Regions from separate parts of the Homo sapiens genome. Here region 2 is linked to region 1. Evidence: promoter capture Hi-C in 16 types of primary human blood cells and fetal thymus (Javierre and others, 2016). All regions are on one chromosome and are shown on one strand. Each heading gives the region's core, a stretch centred on a gene start or on the middle of the fragment in contact. The rest is flanking DNA. Distances are from core to core; before and after follow the strand shown. Region 1 holds the start of GPC2 (glypican 2). Region 2 has its middle 28 kb from the start of SPDYE21.

Evidence for each region. Contacts are between HindIII fragments. The CHiCAGO score rates a contact against its expected background, and 5 or more counts as called.
Region 2: a fragment that was not itself captured here is called in contact with the fragment with the promoter of GPC2 in region 1 in 2 of 17 cell types (endothelial precursors and total CD4 T cells); the score reaches 17.1 in endothelial precursors.

The regions. Positions count from the first base shown.
Region 1 is chr7:100,171,528-100,178,674 of GRCh38, forward strand. GPC2 (glypican 2) reads right to left here and starts at 5,854. Exons shown (of 10, transcript NM_152742.3): 1 at 5,507-5,854; 2 at 4,680-4,838; 3 at 4,045-4,367; 4 at 3,158-3,238; 5 at 2,308-2,470; 6 at 560-690; 7 at 252-398; 8 at 12-151. The coding sequence starts at 5,672. STAG3 (STAG3 cohesin complex component) reads left to right here and starts at 6,391. Exons shown (of 34, transcript NM_001282717.2): 1 at 6,391-6,478. RefSeq lists silencers at 1-155, 296-405, 5,816-5,935, 6,116-6,165. The HindIII fragment of the contact is 8,320 bases long and covers 3,568-7,147 here.
Region 2 is chr7:67,301,818-67,308,512 of GRCh38, forward strand. It overlaps the pseudogene PMS2P4 and the pseudogene STAG3L4. Among named protein-coding and RNA genes, the nearest start is that of SPDYE21, 28 kb to the left of the region's middle. RefSeq lists an enhancer at 804-853 and a silencer at 1,034-1,213. The HindIII fragment of the contact is 2,071 bases long and covers 3,868-5,938 here.

The DNA of each region.
Region 1 (7,147 bases), core at 4,604-7,103:
CCGAGGCTCACCGGCCCCGCCCGGCTCCGGTCCAGCAGGGCGCCGCCTCCAGCGAGGCGTCCGCTGCCATGCGAGAGTCTCCGCACACCGTCAGGGACAGCCGGGCCCAGAAGCCCCGCATCCGGGCCAGACGCTCGCGGAGCTCCCACACCTGGGCGGGCGAGAGGGGGCGGGGCGAGCTGGAGCGCGACCCCCACAACCATCCCCGGCCCCGGGCCCCCCCGCCCCCAACTCTTGGTCATCCCACGCACCAGCCGGTGCAGGTTGGTGCCTGCGGCCGTCGTGGGCCGCTCCTCCTCGGTCACCATCGACCACAGCCGGCCCGCCTCTTCCCGGGGCGGCGGGGCTCGACGGTTGCGGGCAGGCACCGGGTCGGGGGGGCCGCACTCCTGAAACACCTGCGGCACCGGGAAGAGACCTCACACAGTCACCCTGGGGGGAAACCACACTGCGTCCCCACTCTGACCCCAGAGTCTCTTCCCAGATCCCCTATACTGCCTCTCTGACACCCACACCGTCCCCGCCCCGGGCCTCACCTCCACCCTTCTCTCCCCTGTACCTGGGCGGACACCTTCGCACTGTTTTCCTGCAGGTACATCAAACCCTCCGAGATCTTCACCCCAATGGACTCGGCCGTCAGCTCAAAGGAAAAGGGGCCCTGGAGCTTATCAGCCAGGATCAGGAGACCATCTTAAGGGAGGGAGAGAAAGAGAAAGGATGGGATGAGTGGTGATACTGAACTAGGATGTTCCTGAAAATCCTCACTCGGGCCTTAGAGAAGCAGCAAAGTGTTTGGGGGAAACTCACATGAGCTCCCTCTCATGTATCCCCCCAATTTGGCTTTAAAGCCCCTCTCCATTTCACCCCCAGCCTTACTCAGGACCCTCCTCCATCCCAGACTTTTTTAAAATTTAAATTTAAATTTTAGGATTTTAGGATTTTTTTTTTTTTTGAGACATAGTCTCACTCTGTCGCCCAGGCTGGATGGAGTGCAGTGGCGCGATCTCGGGTCACTGCAACCTCTGCCTCCTGGGTTCAAGCGATTCTTCTGCCTCAGCCTCCGGAGTAGCTGAGACTACAGGCGCCTGCCACCATGCCGGCTAATTTTTGTATATATATATATGTGTGTGTGTATATATATATATGTGTGTGTGTGTGTATATATATATACGTGTATATATATGTATATATACACGTATATATATGTGTATATATATGTGTGTATATATATGTGTGTATATATATATGTGTGTGTATATATATACGTATATATATGTGTGTATATATATACGTGTATATATATATATTTTTTTCCGGTAGAGAAGGGGTTTCACCATATTGGCCAAGCTGGTCTTTGTCTCAAAAAAAAAAGAGTCTCATCTGTCACCCAGGCTGGAGTGCAATGGCATGATCTTGGCTCACTGCAATCTCTGCCTCCCGGGTTCAAGTGATTCTTCTGCCTCAGCGTCCCAAGTAGCTGGGACTACAGGTGCATGCCACCACGCCTGGCTAATTTTTGTATTTTTAGTAGAGATGGGGTTTCACCATGTTAGCCAGGCTGGTCTCGAACTCCTGACCTCTTGATCCACCCACCTCGGCCTCCCAAAGTGCTGGGATTACAGGCATGAGCCATCATGCCCAGCCGGCCAAGCTGGTCTTGAACTCCTGACCTGTCCTTGTGATCCGCCTGCCTCCGCCTCCCAAAGTGCTAGGATTACAAGCGTGAGCCACCGTGCCTGGCCAATTTTAGGATTTTTTTAGACAGGGTCTTACTCTCTCGCCCAGGTTGGAGTATAGTGGCATCATCATAGCTTACTGCAGCCTCTAACTCCTGGGATCAAGGGAGCCTCCTGCCTCAGCCTCTGGAGTAACTGGGACAACAGGCATGTGTGCCACCATGCCTGATAATTTCTTTCTTTTTTTTTTTTTTGGTAGAGATGCGGTCTAGCTACGTTGCCCAGGCTGGCCTCCAACTCCTGGCCTCAAGTGATCCTCCTGCCTCAGCCTCAGGAGTAACTGGGACTACAGGCGCGGGCGCTACCATGCCTGGCTGATTTCTTTCTTTTCTTTCTTTCTTTCTTTCTTTTTCTTTCTTTCCTTCCTTCTTTCCTTCTTTCTTTCTCTGTCTCTCTCTCTCTCTTTCTTTCTCTCTCTCTCTTTCTTTCTTGAGATGACGTCTAGCTATGTTGCCCCAGCTGGGCTCCAACTCCTGGCCTCAAGTGATCCTCCTGCCTCAGCCTCTCAAAGTGCTGTGATTACAGGTGTGAGCCACCATGCCTGGCTCCAGGCTTTCTTGAATCCCCTCACCCAGATAGTTGCCCCAGTCAGGCTCCAGTCCCCTGCTGCTGAGACAGCCACGAACCACGTTGAGGCAGAAGCCCTGGCAGGGCATAAGTGAGGGGACCCCCCGGCACAGGGGACAGCCGATGAGACGCATCAGAGCCTGGCTGCAGCCTTCAGACACCGGCACCTGGGGGCAGAGAGTGGGGCTGTGTCCTCCACAAACGCTGTGGCTGCTCTCAGCCTGGCTTGGTGCTGGGCACAGACAGAAATCACATACCCCACCCTACACCTAGGGTTGGTGACCCCACGTGGCAGCAGGTGAGATTGTCACAGATCTGAGGAGGGAGGTTCCAGGTTGCTGACTCTGATTCGTGGGAGGGGTGGAAATAGAGAGGCAGTTAGGGGTGGAGGGAACATTCAAGGACAAGAGTGAGCCCATCACAGCTGGGGAGGGAGGAGGCGGTCAGGAGGCAGAAGGTGAGGCTGGGAGGTCAGGTAGAGGATGGGCAGTGAGAGAGGCCAAGCCAGGCATCTGGCCTTCAGCAGCAGGGAAGTGGAGTCATTGAGGGATCCTGGGGGGTTGGGCGGGGGCAGTATCCAATCTCCTACTGCTATGGAGATGAGCAGGCCCTTGGGGACTGAGGAGGGTATGGGTCCACAGAGGGGAGGAGGGGGTCAGAGATCATGGATCGTGGACCATTGGAGGTTTCACTCCAGCCCCCTCCTTCCTAATTCATCCTAGGACACCAGGGCCTGGAGGCAGACAGAGCCCAAGGCCTGTCCTGCTGGCTGGTGGCTGTTTCTTCCTTGTGGGGTCTCTCTCACTTCCACCTCTCCCTCCCTGGGCCCTGCCCATACTCAGGCACCCTCCAACCTTAAGCGCTTCGCTGACCACATTTCTTCCAGTCTCCAGGCCCTGCACAAAGGCTCGGGCAGCCACCAGGGTCCGGGTTATCTGGGAGAAGGCAAAGAAGGTGAGAAAAACCACAAGGTTGTTATGGGTCAGTCAAGACTGGAGCCAAGAGACTGCATCAAGAGCAGTGAGGGTTGGGTGTGTGGGGTTCTCTCAGAGTGGGTCGAGTGTTGGGTGGTACAGAGAGGCAGGTTCAAGAGCCCCCACAGGAATTATAGTCTTAAAGAAAAACAAAGGAAGGCTTGGGAAGAGATGGAGGGATTATGTTGTACAGGGCTTAGAGAGAGAGAAATTGTGTATCGGAACTAACACTGAACTTGAAGCCAGAAGACCTGGGTGTGAGCCACGGCTCTGCCACTTACTGGCTGAAAAGCTTAATCTCTGGGAGCCTCAGTTTTCTCATCTGTAAAATAAGGGCATGACTGTCTACCTCACAGGGTTATGATGACAACTAAATGTGATACTATAAAAGAAAATGCCTTTTGCGTATTGAATGCACAATTCCTGTTTAGTTGAACCAGAGGAAGTCAAGGTGTTACGATTAGGAAGGGGTTGGCACAAAGGTGGCTGGAGGCTAAGGGCAGGTGAGTGTTTGTGTGAAACTAGGGCTCAGAATGGGAGGTGGCAGGGGTGGGGGCATCTGCTTCAAGAAGACCAAGGGGCACTGGGTCGGGCAGTGGTGAGTAAAGCTCAGGATAGGGATCACCAGGTCAGAAATGGCTTCAATGCAGGATGGGGGATCACCAGGTCAGAGGTGACTGGAGCACGCCAGTTTGGAGGTGAGTGGTGCACAGTTCAGGGGTCACTAGGTCAGAAGTGGTTGAAGCTCAGGCCTCAGGATCCCTCACCTGCAGGCGGAGGCGGCGGGGTGAGTCCCCAAAGGGCTGCAGAGAGCCATCGGTAGATGAGGCCAAGCGTGAGAGGCAGAGCAGGTAGTCAGGGGGGAAGCTGTACTGTGGGTGCAGCAGCGGGAACACTCTCTCCAGGAGCTGTGCCCAGAAATCCGCCAGGGTGTCATCCAACCCCTCACCAGATTCCCCATAGAAGTCTCGCAGCCGAGAGAACAGGCCATTGAATATGAGGGCGTGCTGGGCATACAGGCGGCCGTAGGAGTGGGAGAAGAGCTGGGTCAGAGAGTGCTGGGCTACTGAGAGCATCTCCAGAAAAAACTCTGCAGCAAATGCAGGGAACAGGTGGAAGGCAGGTCAGGCCAAAGAATGGGGAGAAAAGTGAACAGGCAGAGGCAGGAGGAGATGGGAGAGAAGAGAAAAGACAAGTGAATCAGAAACTGAGTAACTCTCAGAGATGGGGCAGACAGGGAATGGGGGAGGGCAGGGCCCTGGAGACAGAGTCTGGGGGGTGGGCGGGCTGGGAGGGGATGGAGTCTTCACAGATGGAGTAAGGAGTGGGGACAGGAGCCTTGCTGGGGTCCTAAGCACCGAGAGGAGCTGTGAAGCTGAGTTTGGGGACCCCAGGTCCTCACCATCAAATTTTCTGTGCCTGGCAGCCAGTGTGTGAACCAGAAAGGAGCCGCTGTCCTCCACCAGGCCTCGGAAGGTGGCCTCAGTCTCCCTGATCAGCCTCTGCTCTGTCTCACTGGAACAGCAGGTGTACTCCTGGGGACAGACCCGGAGGTGCTCACCTGGACAGAGGAGACGTGAAGGAATGGTGGGAAGTGATATCCTAAAATCCCTTCCATTTCCCGCCTATCTCTGGGGACTATGCCTTCTCTTCTACCTGCCTGGTCTCTTTTCTATTGTCTGCACCCTCTTCCCTACCTGAACCTATCCCCTACCTTATTGTCTCCTGACCCATCCCAAGTTCACTCCCATTAGCCACGGGATCATCTATTTAACAGCTGCCCTGAGGGCCAAGTCAGTGGTCAGAGTGTCCTCAGGTGACCCTCCCCAATGTCCACACCCCAGACCTCGAGGGACTTGGAGAACAGCTTCTAGGGGATGAAGAATGGGGCTTGGAAGGGTGGGGTTACTTGGTGAGCAATAAAGTATTCTCATAGAAGGGGCTAATAGAAACAGCGAGGAGAACATGGCTGTGAAGAAAGAAACACATAGGGGGTGTTAATTAGGAGGAGGGGATTCCTGGGGTGGGGATGGAGTAAGAGCGCTATTCTTTGCATAGGAGGGTTATTGTGATCCCGGTAAGGAAGTTACAGGAGGAGAACAGACATTACTGTGGGATGAAAAGATTAGTATAACGGTCACTCTGAAAAGGAAGAGAGTTATTGTGAGATGAGGAGGCCCCGCCCCCGCCCCCCACCCCCAATTCTCTAGTCTTCCTCTTTCTCCTCACCTGAGATCAGGGCGGGAGGGATTAGGTTTAAGCTATATCCCCGGGCCCCCAGCACCTGCCGGGTCTCTGCACAACTCCGGGTGACCTTTGCCTCGCTCCCGGGTCCGGGACCAGGACCGGGACACAGAGGCAGCAGCAGAAGCAGGAGAGGTCGCAGCGCGGACATAACTGCAGCCACCCCAGGACGGCAAAGTGGGTCCTAAGGAGGAAAGCAGAGCCTCCCAAACTCGGGAATCCGGTACTCGGCCGCGGGACCGCTCCGCGGGCCAGAGAAAGAGCGCTGCTCCGGAAAACTGAATACCGAGCACGATAGCTGGACCAGGCGGCATCTGCCGAGACAATGGGAGCGGGGAGCCGGACAGGGGGCGGGGCCCGAGGCGGGGCCCCGCCAATAATGGCTCGGAGCCGGCTTCAGGGGCGGGGGCAAGGAAGAAATTAAGCCAATGTAGCGCGGAAGCTCGGCAGGGGGGCGGGACCCGGCTGGCACTCAGGAGGTTGGTGAAATAGGGGCGTGGTCTCCCTCGGGGGCGTGGCGATCCGGCTCAAAAGGCGGGGCCTGGGTGGAACCTAGCCTATGGCAATTGAGAAGCCAGATTAAAGGGGTTACTAGCAGTCTGGTCCAAAACCCGCCCAATGGAGTAGGAGATTGAGGGTAGCGGGGGTGGGACCTGGGTGGGGGCGGGGCTAAAGCGGGCCGCCCGCGTGCCCAAGCCCACGTGAGAGGGCAGGACGCCTGAGAGCTTGAGGCCACACGAGGCTGTGGAGCGGCGTGACTCAAACGTGGCGCGCATCAGCTCGCACACTTCCAAACCTCGCGATAGCTACTGGCCCTGGGCGAGCCGTTGGGATTGCGCTTGCGCACAGCGTGTCTTGTACGTTCCCGCGCTTTTCTGGAATCTTTCGCCCCCGGAAGGGCAGCGGCGGGCGCCTGTGTGGAAGGTGGGGTGGCCAGAGACACCCGAGGGACCTGAGGTGGGGACCTTCCCTGAACCCTGCTCGGCCAGAAGTCACTCTTCCAGGCTCTGACAGGTTTCTCCTTGACCCAAGAATAGGCCCTCTCGCGACCCTCCCGGCCCTGACACTAGGAGCCTTCCCGGGCCGTGCCCCAATGGCCTCCGCCACAGAGCTGGAGAATCCTCTCCCCAGGCCTCCATAGACTGAGAGTCCATTCTCTTAAGCGCTTGGAAGGCTCTTTATCCTGGAGCCGCTTACCCCAGGGGCAGTCGTAGATATTTTTACCTTCTGGAAAAATAGGAAACGCGCACCTGCCTTTCCTCCTTTTGCGTTTCCAGCCCTATTCTCATGGCGCCTCCACCCCCAAATCCTTAAGAGCCTCCTGTTCCATTCCAGGTGGAATCAGGTGCTAGTCCTCTGGAAACGAAAGCCTGGGGTCTTCTTGTATTTTTTTTCTTATTTCTTTCTTTATTTTTTTTATTTCATTTTAAAAAACCTGTAAGTTCCCTTGCAGAGGGCGGTTTATACTTCCGAAGCCTCCAGAGAGGGGTGCGTCTGAAGCTGCCCTGCTGTCTGCCTTGCTTGGCTTTTTTTTTTTTTTCCATTTAATTTTTTTTTTTTAGAGACAGGGCGTTGCTATGTGGCCCAGGCTGATCTTGAATTCCTGGACCCAAGCGATGCTCCCGC
Region 2 (6,695 bases), core at 3,653-6,152, about 33 Mb before region 1:
ACGCTCTACCTTCCCCAAAATAACCTCAATTTTTTAAAAAGGCCAGGCAGCGTGCATCAGGCCTGTAATTCCAGCACCTTGGGGGGCCAAGGCGGGCGGATTGCTTGAGCTCAGGAGTTCGAGATCAGCCTCAGCAACATAGCGAAATCCCCGTCTCTACAAAAATAAAAAATTAAAAATTAAATAATATAAAAATAAAAATAAAAGGGGAGAGAGAACAGGTAGAAAGGAAATGCATTCAGTCTATGGGGATTTCACGCTAGGGCTTCAAGTTCACGGCCCTGTGATGGGATGTGGGCAGGGCCTGTCTGGGACAGGCCGAACCCAGCTCCTTACAGGGCCGAATCCTTTGCCCGCAGCCAAAGACCCCGAAGGAGCCTGCCTCGGCCTTAAGGCGCAACCAAGGAGCACTGGATGGCTGGGGCGCTGAGGACGCCGCTCCGGGGCCTCCACGCCTCGCCACGCCCCTCGGCCATGTTCCCCCCATTTCCAGGGAGGTTGGAACGCCGTGGTTCTCAAGGAGGACGCGCGAGAAGGGAGACCGCGAGCCCAGCTCACCTCTAGCTCTCAGCTCGCTCCATGGACTCAATACCCGATCCGCCTCGGGGCCTGGGAAAGTTCCCTCCACGACTCCCACAGGCGCCCCGCCTCCTGGGCTCCCATTGGCTGCTTTTGACGTTGTGCTCCACCCTTTCTGGGCGGGGCGGAAAAAATACTTCCCGTCTCTCCTTTTCGCCTATTAGCTCCGTCAAAGGTCGAGTCCGTGACGTCAAAGAGCATGGGCCAATCAGAGCACACCGGACTGCTTTTTTTTTTTTTCCCGAACGACCGCAGCAGGGTCACAAGGGAGATGTCCGCCCCCAGTCGTAGCCTCGGACGGTTTCTGAGCGTTGGTGTTTGGCACGCGCCACCCTCTCTTGCTTTGGTTCCGCCATGCCGATGTACCAGGTAAAACCTTATCACGGGCGCGGCGCGCCTCTCCGTGTGGAGCTTCCCACCTGCATGTACCGGCTCTCTAACGTGCAAGGCAGGAGCGGCGGCCCAGCGCCCGGCGTTGGCCACCTACAGGTAGGAGCGCGGGCCCCTCCTTCCCCCCCACCCCGCGCCAAGTGCGCACGCGCGGCGGCCGGCTGCTGGCCCGAGTCCCCCCGGGCCGGAACGAGTGTGTCCCACCCGGTTTGCGGTCCCACCCGGTTCGCGGTCCCACCCCGGCATTTGTGCCGGCCGGCCAGGGACTCACCCAAACCTTTATGTTTTAAAAGATTTATTCAGGCCGGGCGCCGTGGCTCACGCCTGTAATCCCAGCACTTTGGGAGGCCCAAGCAGGCAGGTCACCTGAGGTCAGGAGTTCGAGACCAACCTGACCAACACGTTGAAGCCTCGTCTCTACTAAAAATACAAAAATCAGCCGGGCGTGTGGCGGGCGCCTGTAATCCCAGCCACTCGGGAGGCTGAGGCAGGAGAATCGTTTGAACCCTGGAGGCGGAGTTTGCAGTGAGCTGAGATCGAGCCATTGCACTCGAGCCTGGGCGACAGAGCTAGACTCCGACTCAAAAAAAAAAAAAAAAAATAGAGACAAGGGTCTCACTATGTTGCTCACGCTGGTCTCAGACTCTCAGGGCTCAAGCAATCCTCTCGCCTCGGTCTCCCAAAGCGCTGAGATACCAGGCGTGAACCACCGCGCCCGACTAGGAAAAAAAAAATATATATATATATATATATATATATATATATATATGTACACGTGTATGTATATATACATATATATACACACGTATATGTATAGATATATACGTATGTGTATATATTTCTTTTATACGTATATATATAACATTTTTGTTTTTTTGAGACATTTTGAGAATAATTTTTTTTTTATATGGCTGCTTAAACATGTTAGTTCAGAGATTCTGCCCTGTGAAAAGTGAATAGCACATAAATGCTCATTTTGAGGAATTACAAAGCGAACTCCAGGGTCACCACCTCCCAGGTTGACACACATTGTCACCGCTCCATTCTTTCCACTTAAACCTTCCCCCCAACCCCCTCAAGGTCCTGATTTTTATGGTAATTATGTTCTATTTGTGTCTATTATTTTGTCACCTAAGTATCCCTAAACAATATAGTCTGGGTTTTTATTTGTTTTTTTTTTTGTTGTTTTTTTCAGACGGAGTTTCACTGTGTCACCCAGGCTGGAGTGCAGTGGTGTGAGCTCGGCTCACTGCAACCTCTGCCTCCCGGGTTCAAGCAGTTCTCCCATCTCAGCCTCCTGAGTAGCTTGGATTACAGGTGCACGCCACCACACCCAACTAATTTTTGTATTTTTAGCAGAGACGGGGTTTCACCATTTTGGCCAGGATGGTCTTGATCTCTTGACCTCATGATCCACCCGCCTCAGCCTTCCAAAGTGCTGGGATTACAGGTGCGAGCCACCATGCCTGGCCTTTTATTTCTTTTTTTGAGCCCATTCTCTCCCTGTTTTATTTTTAAAATTTTATTAAACATAGTCATTTTATAATCTATGATAGATGATTATCTAAAGTGTTTGTGAAATAATTTTGTCAGTGCCTTGTTTCTTTATATGTTTTACTAGGTTTATTGTGAGCCACTCATTTTCCCTGGAGTTCTTTGGGGCCTAGGTCAAAGGTGGGTTTTTTTTTTTTTGAGACCGAGTCTCGCTCTGTCACCCAGGCTGGAGTGCAGTGGTGTGATCTCTGCTCACTGCAAGCTCCGCCTCCCGGGTTCAGGCCATTCTCCTGCCTCAGCCTCCCGAATAGCTGGGACTACAGGCACCTGCAACCATGCTGGCTAAATTTTTGTATTTTTAGTAGAGATGGGGTTTCACCATGTTAGCCAGGATGGTCTCGATCTCCTGACCTCATGATCCGCCTGCCTCGGCCTCCCAAAGTGCTGGGATTACAGGTGTGAGCCACCGCGCCTGGCCCCAAAGGTGGGTTTTCAAGAGAGGAACGTGCTGTTGCTTTGACAGTTGCCTGGGGACACTCCAGAATCACTTTTCTTTTCTTTTTTTTTTTTTTTTGAGACAGGTTCTCATTCTTTCTAGGCTGGAGTGCAGTGGTGCTATCACGGCTCCCTGCTGATTTGACCTCCCTCAGTGGCAAGGTGGTGACCCTCCCACCTCAGCTTCTCGCATAGCTGGGACTATAGGCATGTGCCACCATGCCTGACTAATTATTCTGTTTTTGGTAGACCAGCCTGGGCAACATGAGTTTCACTTTACTTGGGTTACTGCTCCCAGCCTGAATCACTTTTAATTATCTGAATGATTATTCTGGGCTGGGTGTGGTGGCTCATGCCTATAATCCAAGCACTTTGGGAGGCTAAGGTGGGCCTCACTTGAGGTCAGGAGTTCGAGACCAGCCTGGCCAATATGGTGAAACCCTGTGTCTACTAAAAATACAAAAATTAGCCATTAGCCAGGCGTGGTGGCACATACCTGTAATCCCAGCTACTCGGGAGGCTGAAGCAGGAGAATGCTTGAACCTGGGAGGTGGAGGTTGTAGTGAGCTGAGATCTCGCCATTGCGCTCTAGCTTGGGCTACAGAGTGAGACTGTCTCAAAAAAAAAAAAAAACAAAAGGAAAAGATAAAAAAGATTATTCTGATCATGTATGTGGTATGAATCTTGACTGCAAATCCAGATCTGAGCGCTCACTATGGTTATGAATTCTCAAGGAGGAGTTATTTTTTTTCCCCTCCACTGCACCCTCAGGTCATAACAAGCTAGTTTTCTTGCTGTCGCCATCTGCCCTATAGGTTTAGTGTTCAATCTCACTTCCTTGAGGATGTGACTCTTTGCAGGACCCAGCTTTATTTAGGTGCCTCCTCTTGGACTACTCGTCTTGGAAGAAGCTTAGACTCTACCTCCTGTGCTCTGCACTCCATGCAGCCATCTGGATACAAAGTCAGGGTCCCCAGGGATTAATGAAACCTTTAGGGCAAAAGTCAGTTTGCTTACCTCCCAGGGTTGCTACTACACCTCATTTTTGGACTATATGAAATTTTACCTTTCATTCTAGTTCACCAGTACATTGTGAAAGATGTTTTAAATGTTTTACAGAAGTTTAGATGGTTCAACTGGGAAGATCATATAGGATTTCTGTTCTGTTATATTGCCAGAAGTAGAAGTCATCTGTATTTTTTTTTTACTAGTCTTTGGTAGATGAGTGGCTGGATAGCTACAAGCAAGACCAGGATGCAGGATTTCTGGAGCTTGTTAACTTTTTCATCTGATCTTGTGGATGTAAAGGTGAGGAAACTGCTCCCCCTTTCTAATTCCCAGCCTTTTGTTCCTATGTTATGAATTCTTTCTCCATTTAGATAAGTAGGATTAGATATTTCCTAAATAAAGGAAGATAGTAAAGCATTAGAAAAATTTTACTTATTTAGGCTGGGCACTGTGACTCACACCTGTAATCCCAGCACTTTGGGAAGCTGAGGCGGGTGGATCACTTGAGGTCAGGAGTTGAAGACCAGCCTGGGCAACATGGTGAAACCCCTACTAAAATACAAAAAATTATCTGGGTATGTGGCTCATGCCTGTAGAATTGCTTGAACCCAGGAGGTGGAGGTTATAGTGAGCCTGGATAGCGCCACTGCACTCCAACCTGGGCGACAGAGCCAGACTGTCTTCAAAAAAAAAAAAAAGAGAGAGAAAAGTTTCACTTCTTTAACTAAATTTTTTGTTGATAAATACGGGAAGTGATCCAGTAGGGAACCATGTTGGTTTAGAGACAAGAAACTTTGGGGAAAAAGAAGTAATCATGCTTATGTTATGGCACAAATTTGAGGACACCTTTTAGTCTTTCTAGATGCAATAATCTGTTATTTTCTTACTCTTTATTTCCCAGCTACTTTGCCCATATTTCTCCTCTGTAGCTGTGGTACCCCCAGAACTCTTACTGCCATGGCTTGATTTATTGGGACAGATGGTCTCAGTCAGGTTGTATTATATAAGAAATCAGCGTCTGGCTTAGTTTTATTACTCTCTTTTGTTTTGTTTTGTTTTGTTTTTGTTTTTGTTTTTGAGACAGAATCTCACTCGATTGTCCAGGCTGGAGTGCAGTGGCACGATCTGGGCTCACTGCAACCTCTACATCCTGGGTTTAAGTGATTCTCATGCCTCAGCCTCTCAAGTGGCTGGGATTACAAGCATGTGCCACCATATGTGGCTAATTTTTTTTTTTTTCTTTGAGACGGAGTCTGGCTCTGTCGCCCAGGCTGGAGTCCAGTGGCACAATCTCGGCTCACCGCAACCTCCGCATCCCAGGTTCAAGTGATTCTTCTGCCACAGCCTCCTGAGTAGCTGGGACTACAGGTGTGCACCACCATGCCTAGCTAATTTTTGTATTTTTAGTAGAGACAGGGTTTCACCATATTGGCCAGGCTGGTCTTGAACTCCTGACCTCGTGATCCGCCCATCTCACCCTCCCAAAGTGCTGGGATTACAGGCTTGAGCCACTGCGCCCGGCCTACGTGGCTAATTTTTGTATTTTTAGTAGAGATGGGGTTTCGCCAGGCTGGTCTTGTACTCCTGACCTCAGGTGATTCACCTGCCTCGGCCTCCCAAAGTGTTGGGATTACAGGCGTTAGCCATCGCGCCTGGCCTGTTTTGTTGTTGTTGTTGTTTTGTTGTTGTTTATTTTGGGGCACAGTTTTTCACTGCTTGATTCCTTTTTTTTTTTTAAACAAATCCTGCCTCAGGTTTATTTGTACAAATAGTGCAGGAGGACACCAGTCCTTCTGTCCTCACGTTGGCAGACAGAGATCTCTACTCTGAAGCCTTTGTACAGGCCTGGGCACCTTTGGGAGCCTGAGCTGGAACTGAAGCTGGAGCTGCAGCCTGGGCCTTCATTTGATCCTTGGCCTTTGGCTGGTACAGTCTGAGCCCCTTGGCATTGTGGGCACAAGCATGCTTCTCAAGCTTGGGGTGGGCAGTGTAGGCAAGTGGGCTTAACGTCCTTGGGCTTTACGAGGGGCTCGATAGCCTCGGCATGTACACCCATGACCCTGGCATTGTTGCCCTGCATCTTCTTTTTTTTTTTGTTTTGCTTTTTTTGTTTTGAGACAGAGTCTCACTTGTTGCCCAGGCTGGAGTGCAGTAGTGCGATCTCAGCTCACTGCAACCTCTGCCTCCCGGGTTGAAGCAATTCTCCTGCCTCAGCCTCCCGAGTAGCTGGGATTACAGGCACCCGCCACTACGCCCAGCTCATTTTTTCCATTTTTAGTAGAGAACTGGGTTTCATCATGTTGGCCAGGCTGGTCTAGAATTCCTGACCTTGTGATTCTCCTGCCTCGGCCTCCCAAAGTGCTGGGATTACAGGCTTGACCGACTGCGCCCGGCCAGCCTGCATCTTCTTTAGGCCCTTCTTGTTGTGCTTCTTGGCAAAGCACATATTCCTCAGGAACTTGGGGTCCATCCCCTTAAGAGAGTTGTATCTTTGTGATTGGGGTTTCTTGATGCCATTTCTGTGTAATTTTCAGCCTGGTTGTGTGAGGTGTGGTTTTTGGATTTGGCCGTGTCTACACCATAACCTATGGCTCCCTTCCTTTGGGTTTTTAGAGAGATTGCCTTATAGCAGATACACAGTTGGATGTTGGCAGACCGTTGACCAGGGGGTCTTTTGATTCCCCACCTAAGCTCTTTGCACAGTGTTTCCTTGCTCATATTCAGGTATA